2 separate regions of the Homo sapiens genome follow, and region 1 is linked to region 2. Evidence: promoter capture Hi-C in 16 types of primary human blood cells and fetal thymus (Javierre and others, 2016). All regions are on one chromosome and are shown on one strand. The core of a region is centred on a gene start or on the middle of the fragment in contact, and the rest is flanking DNA. Distances in the headings are between cores, read along the strand shown.

Region 1 (5,631 bases), core at 587-3,086, 2.4 Mb before region 2:
AAAGGGAAGGGTTCCCATCACCTGTGACCACCCAGACTGGCTTACAGACGAATCCTTAACTAGCAACACCTCCCTGCTGAACTGGCACTCCAAGGCTGGGCAGCTAACGGAGACATTTGCGTCAGGAGTCACTGATGTTAGTATTCTGCCTTAACTCTCAAAACCGACTCGGAAACTGAGAGTGCAATAGTTTCAACCGCATTTTGAAACATCAATAAAATGTTAGTCATTTGCGGATGAATGAAAACATTTTCTTTACCGTCTGGTATGCTAGGGAAATAATTGTGAAATGACAGACTCTCACTAATATCGATGCCAAATACCTAAGTAACACTGTCATCTTGTTAACTGCATTTTTCTATCTTGCGTGGCACGCTGATGGATAAAGCGTAAAATTATCTAGGGCAAACGGGGGATTAGAAGACTTGACATGTCACATACATGGGCAAAGCTATGCAGTATTATTTAGCATTTCAGTAGAAACGAGCTAGATTCTATTGAAGAGACACAGAAGGTATAGCTTCCTGCATTGTGACTCAGTTTAGTGCTATTTTAAGCAGGGATGGGGGTGCCAGTGTTTTCTAGTACAAGCTATGAAAAGCATCCTTTTCTGACTGCTGTTTCCCAGAGATCTGACATCTTCAGTGTCCACGGGGGTGGGTTGGGGGTGGTAGGAGGAGGGTTTTCTTTGACCAGGGATGGAGCTATGCTGCAGTTTTAATATGTACAACAACCCTTCAGGCTTGTAAACGGAAACTGGAGCCACTTCTTTTAAAGACAGTTTCCTTTCCTTATTTCTAGTTTTTTATCTCAACTACCATTCACAGATCACACTTAACTCTTGGAGAACCCATCTAAAGAAAGCAATGACTGAACTTAGTGTATAGATGTCTGGATTATGGGGGAAAGTATTTACAGGTACGTCACTATTATTTACAGCAAGTGCAAGAATGTCAGGTAGGGCAGCCTCTCCAGACCCTTATACTTCTAGTCTTCTGACTAAAGAAAATGAATTTAAAAGCTTTTATGACTTCCTATTCCCTAAACCTTTCTAAGGGCAAAACATCTGACAGGCTTTTACGTGGTTTCTAATATTTGCTTTTGAAGTCCTGGAATTCTTACAAACAGAGACTTAAATTCGGATTGTCTTGGCTCTTTTTGAGGGAAAATCGAAACAAAACCAAACAACAACCAAATGAGAAAAAAAAGCTTAAATAGCAAATAGTTCCTTAGTAGAATTTTTTGAAATAGAAGAATTAGTAATAGCATTGTTTAGAACATTTTAGAGGCAAATAGTGGAGTGGGTATAATGGGTTACTCCTTTGGTTAGAATTTTAAGGAAGTGACATTGGAATTAATTATTATTTCTTTATAATGATGTACCTTTTTTCGCTTTAAAAGCTCAACTTCTAGTATTTCAAGAAATGTAATAATCAGTAGGGAGTTAGTATAAAAGGAGAAAGGTGGAGCCTGATTATGATTGCAGATTATTTCATTATCTAGATTGATTCCACTCCTGCCTTTCATGCCCTATGACCTGTATTTTGAATCCCTAAGGATGTTGGAAAGAGTAATGTTATATAAGGAAGCTTCTTAAGATTGCTTACTTTAATAAACTCGATTTTTATTCAACAGTGTAACTGTGATTGTTAGAATGGAAAAAAATAGAAGTTTACATTTGTTTATTAGTAGTGAATGAGTAAAGCCAGCTTCATCTTTCATGTTATTTTGTTTTAATACTTTGAGATCTAGGGTACATGTGCACAACGCGCAGGTTTGTTACATATGTATACATGTGCCATGTTGGTGTGCTGCACCCATTAACTCATTATTTACATTAGGTATATCTCCTAATGCTATCCCTCCCCCCTCCCCCCTCCCCCACCCCACGACAGACCATGTTATTACTGTGTGAGCATGAGAAGTTTTAGCCAAGACGGGTCCCAGGACCTAATGGAAAGAGCTAATGAGATCACTTTGTATTTCCTGAAGGAGGCAGTCAGGAAGCCCTTATAAACTGTACCTCTGAATAATAGCGCTCTAACTTGGTCCATAATTGATTCTCTATTTGAATTAAGCTGCCTTAAGCTTGGAGTACCTTGCCAACTAAAACTGACGTATACTGATGAATTTCAGGTCAGGGTGAGAAATATAGAGTTCCAGAAATTTGTTGGTGGAGGGGAATCTTCCACTACAGAAGTGTTTCTCAATCTAGGCCCTTTTGACATTTTGGTGCAGGTAATTTGTGTGTGTGTGTGTGTGTGTGTGTGTGTGTGTGGAGCATGGGGACTTCTGTGTGCCTTGGAAAATGTTTATCAGCATCCCTGGCCTCTATCCAGTAGATGCCAATAGTTGTGATACCCAGAATTTCTCCAGGCATTGTTAAATGTCCTGTGGATTGGAAAGGGGATTACTCCAAGTTGAGAACCACTTCATTGTAAGTTATATTTCTAAAATATATACCATCTTGTGTTTTTCAAATAAAATAATAAAGCAGATTTTTTTGTCAAAAGTATCTCATTTGGATTCTATAGCTACAAAAAGAGCTCCTTCTCATCAGTTCAATCTCTACATTTACTTGCCATGTGGTTGAGTAGCCCAGGTTACCACAGATGCAATGAATTTAATGGCTGACGGCAACAAAATACTTTCTAGGATTTCTTCCTAAATTGTAGGAGACTTGCTCAAATAACATTACAATTATACACTAACAAAGGTCTTCTATATTGTTGTAATGTATAGTTTGGTTATAAATGTTATTGTAAAGTAGGCGAGAGGGGGTCTTTTATTTAAGCAAGTATTGAACTAATAGTTCTTTGAAAGGAAATTGTCATTTTATGTTGTTTTTTCCAAAATAAAAGTGTAAGTAAATGGTGAGCTTATTTTGGGCAATAACCCATGTAAATATTTGCCTTCTTTATATTGTGACAGCTACATATTATTCACTCTGGAAATGGCTATTGCATAAAGAAGAAGAAAAAAGCAAAAAGTTATTTGCCTATTGGGTCATTCTATTTAAATATCATATATTTATTCAGTTATAATTTATTTAGCATCTTATCTATTCACCATCAGCATTGGGGGTAAGCAAAGAAGTTAGAAGCGTATATGTGTGTTTGTATGTTTGGAGGAGTGCGGAGATACCTACTCTACTTTCAGAGCTCTTCAAGCCATTTCCATAGAATGGCCCTGAAAATTTCACCTAAGTACTTAAACAAGAAAGAACAGTGTTACAATAGATATGGGTAGAAATCATTTTCAAATAACTGAAGTTTCTACCTTTCTACTTGTAAGAAAACAAGTACAGCTTTAACTATATTTCATTATATAATTTACAGTGGGTTCCAGGAAAACCAATAATTATTATTTAAGATTTTTTCTCACATATTTCTAAGAAACTCAAACACCTCTGTTCAAAAATAAACATCAAATTTTATACTTTATACTGAACTATGATGAATGTAAGATCTTTTTTTTTTCAGGATTGAGAAGGTGGCATTTTATTTTAATTTTCTTTTTTATTATTATTATACTTTAAGTTTTAGGGTACATGTGCACATTGTGCAGGTTAGTTACATATGTATAGCATTGGGAGATATACCTAATGCTAGATGACGAGTTAGTGGGTGCAGCGTACCAGCATGGCACATGTATACATATGAATGTAAGATCTTACCCTCCAAAAGAATTATTCTGTTTTATTTTATTATGTAATTTATTTAATTTCCTAAAAGGTTCTGATTTTTATTGCAGAGGTGTTTATCTTGTATATTTTCAGACTCTACTATGACTTGTTAATTTTGTCCCTTTAGCATTTTATATTTTTTTCTATAATTGATATATGTGTGTCTGTGTATATGTGTGTGCCTGTATAAATGGGAAGTACCTCACTGTGTAAACTTATGAAGACATCTTGACTAGAATTTGTAATTTTTAATTTGTGATAATTTTTACTGTTAATATAGTTTTCTTAACACAAGATTGTGAAAACATAGCTTTAAAACATAGCCCTAAGGAGAAAGAAAACTATTGCCACTTCACTCCATGTTCACTTCTAGCAACTATTGAGATTTTTATTGCTCTTGTTGTAAGTTATGATATTCATGGGTAAGTAAATCATTGGTTTTTCTTAAGATGAGAAAAAGTCAGCCGGGTTTGAAGTGGAATAATTTTAAAGGACTATATCAAATACCTTTCCAAATTTATAACAGTCACCCATGTTTATGACATTTAATTTTTTTTGTTCTGAAATACACATTTTTAACAATATACTTTTAGAAAAGTGCATAGAATGTGAAGGTACAGATTAGTGAAGCACTATTTTAAAGTTAACATCCATTTCATTCCACAGTGATTAAGAAACAGAAAATTACCAACACTCCAAATGCCTTCTGCAAGCCTTTTTAAAATTATAACCCCCATTTTCTTCCTTAAAAGTAACCACTGTAATTATTTCACCATCATCATTTCCTCATTTTCCTTATATTTTTACTATTTAGCTTTGAATCCCTCTGAAAGAATGACTGGCTTTTATATGTACTCATACAAAGCCACAATACATCATACAACATGTAATTATAACATACACTTTTTTGTTTCTGGCTTCTTTTGCTTAACATCATATGTTAGAATTCCTCTGTGCTGTTGTGCAGCTGTTGTTCCTTCATTTCTTGAATCCATGTAGCATTTCATAGTATATCTATAGAATTATATATTTATTCATTATATTTTTGGAAGATATGTTTTATGTTACTTGTCTATTAAAGACAGTGATGCTATAAACATTCTTGGATATCAGTACTGAAAACTTCTCCTAGATTACACAATGCTGAGCTGCAAGTTTTTGAGAACACTGACTGTATCAGTCAGAGTTTGCCACAGAAACAACCAATAGAAAGGAAGTATGTCTGTGCGCATATATATGTATACGTACATTTTGTATATTATATCCATTATATATATACACATACACGCACACACACACACACACACACACACACACAGAGAGAGAGAGAGAGAGAGAGAGATTGTTTTAAAGAATTCTCTCATATAGCTGTAGAAGCTGACAAGTCCAAAAGTCCGAAATCAGCAGGGTGGGCTGGGAGACTAGAGACCCAGGGTAAAGTTGATTTTACAGCTGGTGTCTGAAGGCAGTCCAGGGTTAGAATTCTCTCTTCCTCAGGAGACCACAATCTTTTTTTCAGTTAAGATCGTCTACTGATTAAATGAGCCCCACCCACATTATGGAGGGTAATCTACTTTACTCAATGTCTACAGATTTAAATGTTACTCTCGTCTAGTAAGTATTCTGCATAGCAACATCTACACTGGTATTTGACCAAAAATCTGAGTAGCATAGCCTAGTCAAGTTGGCAGATAAAATCAACCTTCACATTGGTTTAGTTCCAGTTCACCAGTATGCATGATGGGTGTGTCTACCTCATCTCAGCTTAAAGGTTTTTTAAGATACCAAGCCTTGGGTGTCCCTGTACTGTATTTTTTGTCACCTCAACTCTTTGATAAAATTTCAGATCATGGTTATACTATAAATTGTCTTTTATTTAGATAGAACCACATGCAGAACATTAATAAGCCTTTTTTTCTTAAATCATGAGAGCAAAAACTGTAGAA
Region 2 (5,594 bases), core at 998-3,497:
ACAATAGTGATAGTGAGACAGATTGAGCTAGAAAATGTGAAATCAAACTAACCTGCAGGTAGAATCGCATATTTTATGACTAAGGCATCTGCTTAGAGTTTGAAATTTCTCAAATGCCCACTAAGTCAGGGAATGCAGCAGAAATACAAAGGACATGATTCTATTTTTAAAAATGTATAAAAAAAAATTACTCCCTAGCATCGGATCCTTGTGAACAGGACAGGCCTTTCCATTGCTTGTGCTTTTTAATTAAACTATACTTCAAATAGGCCTTCCTGTTTATCAAATATAAACTTTTAAAAATTAAGAGTCCCTTGGTTTAATTTTTGGTTTAATTTTACCTCTGAAAGGTTGCCAATATGCCTTACAAATCTAGGAAATAGAAAATCTAAAATCCCTCTTCCAACAGTGATCTTTTTCCTGGCTATGCTTGTATCCATTTGATTTAAACGAAAATTAAAGGAATTGGGAAAATGTTAGGAGTATATTTTAACATAGGATGAACAGATCAAGTCACAAAGCCAGAGCAAAGGAACATTATGAGACAAGAGCAAAAGTAAAATTAAATAAGAATTCTGGCAAGAATTTTAAAAACTGAAAACTTAGAAAAAAAATCAATCATTACAAATTGTTCTGCTGCTAATACACAATGACTCATGTAAGCATATGGTTTATTATTAACCCAGAAATGTAAAAAAGGCAAGAATTACAAGTGGTCAGAGAAAGTCTCTTCCTGGCTGTGTGATCTTATCAGGTCACTTCTGTTCACTTGAGATAGGACGGGGTAAGAAGAGGGGAGGAGTTTAATAATTTCGGACTCCTCCAGGTTCCATGATCGTATGGAACAGGGCAGTCTGTTCCCTAATGCTGGAGGAGTAGAGCTTGGAGAGATTTGCTGCTGAACTCGCTGCGCTAACCAGACACGTAATCACAGTGGCTTCAGAGGGACTCGCACAACAATTTCCATTAGCTACGGACAAGCATTCCAAACTTTAGCCTTTAGGTTTAATCATTGACACACCTTCCCTGGTCACTGAGTCTCCTCTAGAAACTCAGTATAAACATCCAACGATGTGTTAACAGGGTGTTTTGTAATTTTCTTTTGAAGATTATTCTAGGTGGTGGGCGTCACAGGGTCAATAAAACTATACATTTCTCTCAAAGACTGCAATCCTGATGGCAAAGCTGGAGGAAGCTCCGGGAAACCTGTAATTGTGGGAATCCAAGACAAAAAATCCCCCACAGCTGGGCTGTGGGAAGGGGCCCTACCTAGGAGAAGAAATCAAATCCCCTACAGCTGGGCTGTGCGAAGGGGCACTACCTAGGAGAAGAAATCCCCTACAGCTGGGCTGTGGGAAGGAGCCCTACCTAGGAGAAATCCCCTACAGCTGACAGGTGGGCTGTGGGAAGGGGCCCTACCTAGGAGAAGAAATCAAATCCCCTACAGCTGGGCTGTGCGAAGGGGCACTACCTAGGAGAAGAAATCCCCCACAGCTGGGCTGTGGGAAGGAGCCCTACCTAGGAGAAATCCCCTACAGCTGACAGGTGGGCTGTGGGAAGGGGCCCTACCTAGGAGAAGAAATCAAATCCCTACAGCTGGGCTGTGCGAAGGGGCCCTACCTAGGAGAAGAAATCCCCTACAGCTGGGCTGTGGGAAGGGGCCCTACCTAGGACAAATCCTCTACAGCTGAGAGCTGGGCTGTGGGAAGGGGCCCTGGACAGACCGCTGGGCGCTGCTGCAGGAATCCCCAAACCCAGGCACTGGCTGCAGGGAAAAATCAAGCGGGTGACTGGCGGGGGGGGGGGGGGGGGGTGCAGCGTGGGGCTGGGGGACAGGGAGTGCGGGGGGCGGAGGCTGGGCAGGGGTAGTGCCAACGGACACCTCATGGTGTGGTAGCCTAAACTCAGAGCCTAAACGCAGGACCAGGGCTAGGAGCCCAGGACCAGAAGGCAAAACTTCCTACCTGATTTATGGATGGGAACTTGCAGCCCCTGGAGGGGAATGGCTTCGGTCTGGAGCTCTACGCACTAGTTCTCTGGGAGGACAGAGGGCAGGAAAGGGGTGCAGCCAAAATCAAACTCGGTTCCACTTGGACGAGCAGTGGGGAGATTCGCTGTCTAAACAACTAAGGAGAGTTTTTAAAACCACTTACCAGAATCTAGAGTGGGAATTAAAATCTGCGTGGGCTTCTTCAGATTCCACAGAAATGAGGACTGCCACACCTTCTCCAACTTTTGCAGGCTCCACCCAGGATGTGCGCCTCGCTCCACCCAGGATGTGCGCCTCTCTCCACCCCTAGGCGAAGGCACTAGAATTTCCCAAATTAAGAACGAAGAGGAAGTTTGGACCTTTTCGGCCACCGCTCGCTTCAATATGGCTGCCCCCAGGGAGAGACGAGGCTACCATGAAGGAGCCGAGCGCAGACCCTGAGTCCGTCACCCATGGATCGCAGCGCGGAGTTCAGGAAATGGAAGGCGCAATGTTTGAGCAAAGCGGACCTCAGCCGGAAGGGCAGTGTTGACGAGGATGTGGTAGAGCTTGTGCAGTTTCTGAACATGCGAGATCAGTTTTTCACCACCAGCTCCTGCGCTGGCCGCATCCTACTCCTTGACCGGGTGAGGCCCCTTTGCGCCTGTCCATCGCCTGCCTTCTAGTGCGAAACTTCAGGAGCCCTGTTCCCATCCAGTGACGACCGGATCCAGCATGTCTGTGTTTGCTCCTCTGAGGGGTGGTCTCTGTTTCTTTATATGTGAAATTTAGGGGATTAGATCAGTGCTTCTAAAAGTTTAACGTGGCTATTAATCAGCTGAGCATCTTTTAAAATACAGATCCCGATTCTTTAAGTGTAGGGTAGGGCCTGATACTGTGCATTTCTAACAAGTGCCCAAATGATGTTGAAACTGCTGACCTGGGAACTATCTTGTGTGGCAAAGTTTAGAAAATTTGATTTTATTATATGAATACTAAGGGAATCTAAAGACTTTGTAGCTTGCTAAGGTATTGAATGCCGGAATCCGCTCATCAACAGCTCTGGCAAATCATTGTTACTGCATGCTTGAACATCACCAGTGTTAAGGAGTTTACTGCCTCCTAGTGAGCCCCTCCATTATTACAACTCTAGTAGTTTTACGCAGAGAAAAGTACGATCGTATATAATTTAGGATGGTTAGACTTTTTTTTTTAACTTTATGATGGGTTTACAGGGGTAGTAAATGCATTTTGACTTACATTTTCCACTTATGACGGATTTATTGGGATGTAACCCCATCATAAATCAAGAAGCAGCTGTACAAGCCATACCTCCTTATTTGCAGGTTCAGTTACCCCAGTCAACAGCAGTCTGAAAATATTAAATGAAAATTCCAGAAATAAACAATTAGTAAGTTTTAAATTGCATGCTGTTCTGAGTAGCGTGATAAAATCTTGAGCCAACCAGCTCCTTCCAGAATGGAAGGTGAATCATCCCTTTGTCCAGAATATTCCACTATATATTCTTGCTGCCCTTTAGCTGCTTGGTAGCCTTCTGGGTTATCAGATCGACTGTGGTGGTATCACAGTGCTTGTGTTCAAGTAACTCTTATTTTACTTAATAATGGCCCCAAAGTACGGGAGTAATGATGCTGGCGATTTGGATCTGCCAACAGTAAGTTTTAAAGTGCTTTTTTGAAGTGAAAAGGTGAAAGTTCTTAAGGAAAGACTTAAGGAAAGAAAAAACAGCATATGCTGAGGTTGCTAAGATCTACGGAAAGAATGAATCTTGTCAGTGAAATTGTGAAGTGAAGAAGGAAAAAGAAATTGATCTGAGGTTTCAGGCATCCACTAGGGGGTCTTGGGACATATCCCCTGAGGATAAGGCTGCTTGGGAGTGATACTGCTTAGATTAAAAACCACGGGCTATGTGACCTTAGGAAAGCTATCTCAACTCTGCCCCTTCCTGTTCTATGAACTGAGGATAATAAAAAGTATCTGCTTTATAGGGATTTTGTGTGGAGAAAATAGGATAATTTTTTTTGAAATATTTGGCTTTGTGCCTGGCCCATGCACTGTAAAAGTTGGCTGTGTACTGATTTTATTCGTAGTATTGGCTTAAGAGCATGGAAGACAGCACATTGTTAGGCTCATTCTTTAGGTCCATTATTGACTGATCATTTATTTGCTGATCTCTCAAGTTAGCAGGGCCTGTTCATTTTTAAATCACTTCCATCACCTTCAGAGCAATGGCATTCTTGCCCACAAACTCTCTCTTGCCCCATTTCCATAACTCTGTCTCGCCTTGATTTTTGCAATGGTTCTCTAACAAGCCACTTAACTATTCTTCTCCAAACCATGTTTGACAAATTGCAACTCTGCTTATCTCTCACCTATGCTATGTTTTATTACACATTTTTCTACATCAGAAAATCCAAATGCTTACTCTAGTATACCTTTCAACCTTTTTTTCATTGCTTTTCTTCATCTTTAGCTAGTTACTGAAACTAAACTGTTCTTTTCATCTTGTATTTACTTGCTTTTGCTCATGTTTTTTGGCGGTTTTTTTCCTGAAATGTTTTCCTATCTCTGCATATCTGAGACATGATTCCCAAAACTCCCCTCTCCCACCTGAACCCACAAACACATACTACCTACTTGGAAGTAATGACTGCTTCTGTACTGGTTAGACTTTTATTTCTTATCTTACACCTCGTATTATGGTTTATTTTAAAATCTGCCTTATTTCAGTAAGGATTTGGGGCAACTTACAAACAGGCAACACAAGAAAAAATAAAAAGTGGGAAAATCTGGATAAAGAAAATATAGATAAGATGAAGCCAGCGATGGCATTAGTTGCCAATCCCACCACTAGATCCTGTAAAGTTGCTAGAAGTGGGCCATACATTTGGCTCTAAGATTCAGAGTAGCCAGCACAATGTCAGATACGTAAGTCACCATCACCGAAGTCATACAATGAAGTCAAAATATTTATTTAGGACATGCATAGCAATTCCCGGTTCCAAGGGCAGACAGCAGAGTCTCTTGTGGATCCATCGTATAAATTATAGTTACTTTGAGTATAGTGATTTCTGTTCATGTGGTTTCCTGCATCCCCTTTCCAGTGTCCTTGAGGGGTAGGTTCTGTGTATACCCAAAGTACCTAATAGAACTTTGCAAATAAACATTTGTTCAATTTAAGTTAATATTAAAATGTTTGCCTTCATGAAACTTTGACCTTTCAGTCTTAGCTCCATCCTTCAGGACTACATCTAAAGTCTAATTCAGAGGTCACAAATTTATGCCTCTAGAGACCAAGGAAGTATTATAAATGTGTAAACGGCATAGGTGACAATAAAGGGTAGTAGGTCTTGTGTGGAATTGGGACAGTGCTGTCCTACAAAAGAAATTAAAATTATTTTTTTTTCATTTTTAAATACTGTGCTAGCCAAATAGCTAGAGTACAACTCAGGTGCTGCTAGTATTATCCCTTATACTAATCCCTTTTTTTCTTGCAAAATCATGACCATATTTCAGAAGATGTTTATCAAGTAGTTTTACCTTTCACATAATTTTCTACCTCAAGTTATTTGGGCTCATTCTTATTCTGGGTTAACATTACCCA

What was found. Contacts are between HindIII fragments. The CHiCAGO score rates a contact against its expected background, and 5 or more counts as called.
Region 1: a fragment that was not itself captured here is called in contact with the fragment with the promoter of CRYZ in region 2 in 1 of 17 cell types (total B cells); the score reaches 6.4 in total B cells.

The regions. Positions count from the first base shown.
Region 1 is chr1:72,284,622-72,290,252 of GRCh38, forward strand. The region is part of intron 1 of LOC105378797 (a long non-coding RNA gene); the gene reads left to right. Among named protein-coding and RNA genes, the nearest start is that of NEGR1, 4.9 kb to the left of the region's middle. RefSeq lists an enhancer at 1-935. The HindIII fragment of the contact is 499 bases long and covers 1,588-2,086 here.
Region 2 is chr1:74,730,803-74,736,396 of GRCh38, forward strand. It overlaps CRYZ (crystallin zeta), which reads right to left and starts at 2,248. Exons shown (of 9, transcript NM_001889.4): 1 at 2,154-2,248. It overlaps TYW3 (tRNA-yW synthesizing protein 3 homolog), which reads left to right and starts at 2,350. Exons shown (of 6, transcript NM_138467.3): 1 at 2,350-2,616. The coding sequence starts at 2,443. RefSeq lists enhancers at 1,045-1,334, 1,930-2,640, 2,195-2,484, 2,865-2,964. The HindIII fragment of the contact is 10,326 bases long and covers 1-5,594 here.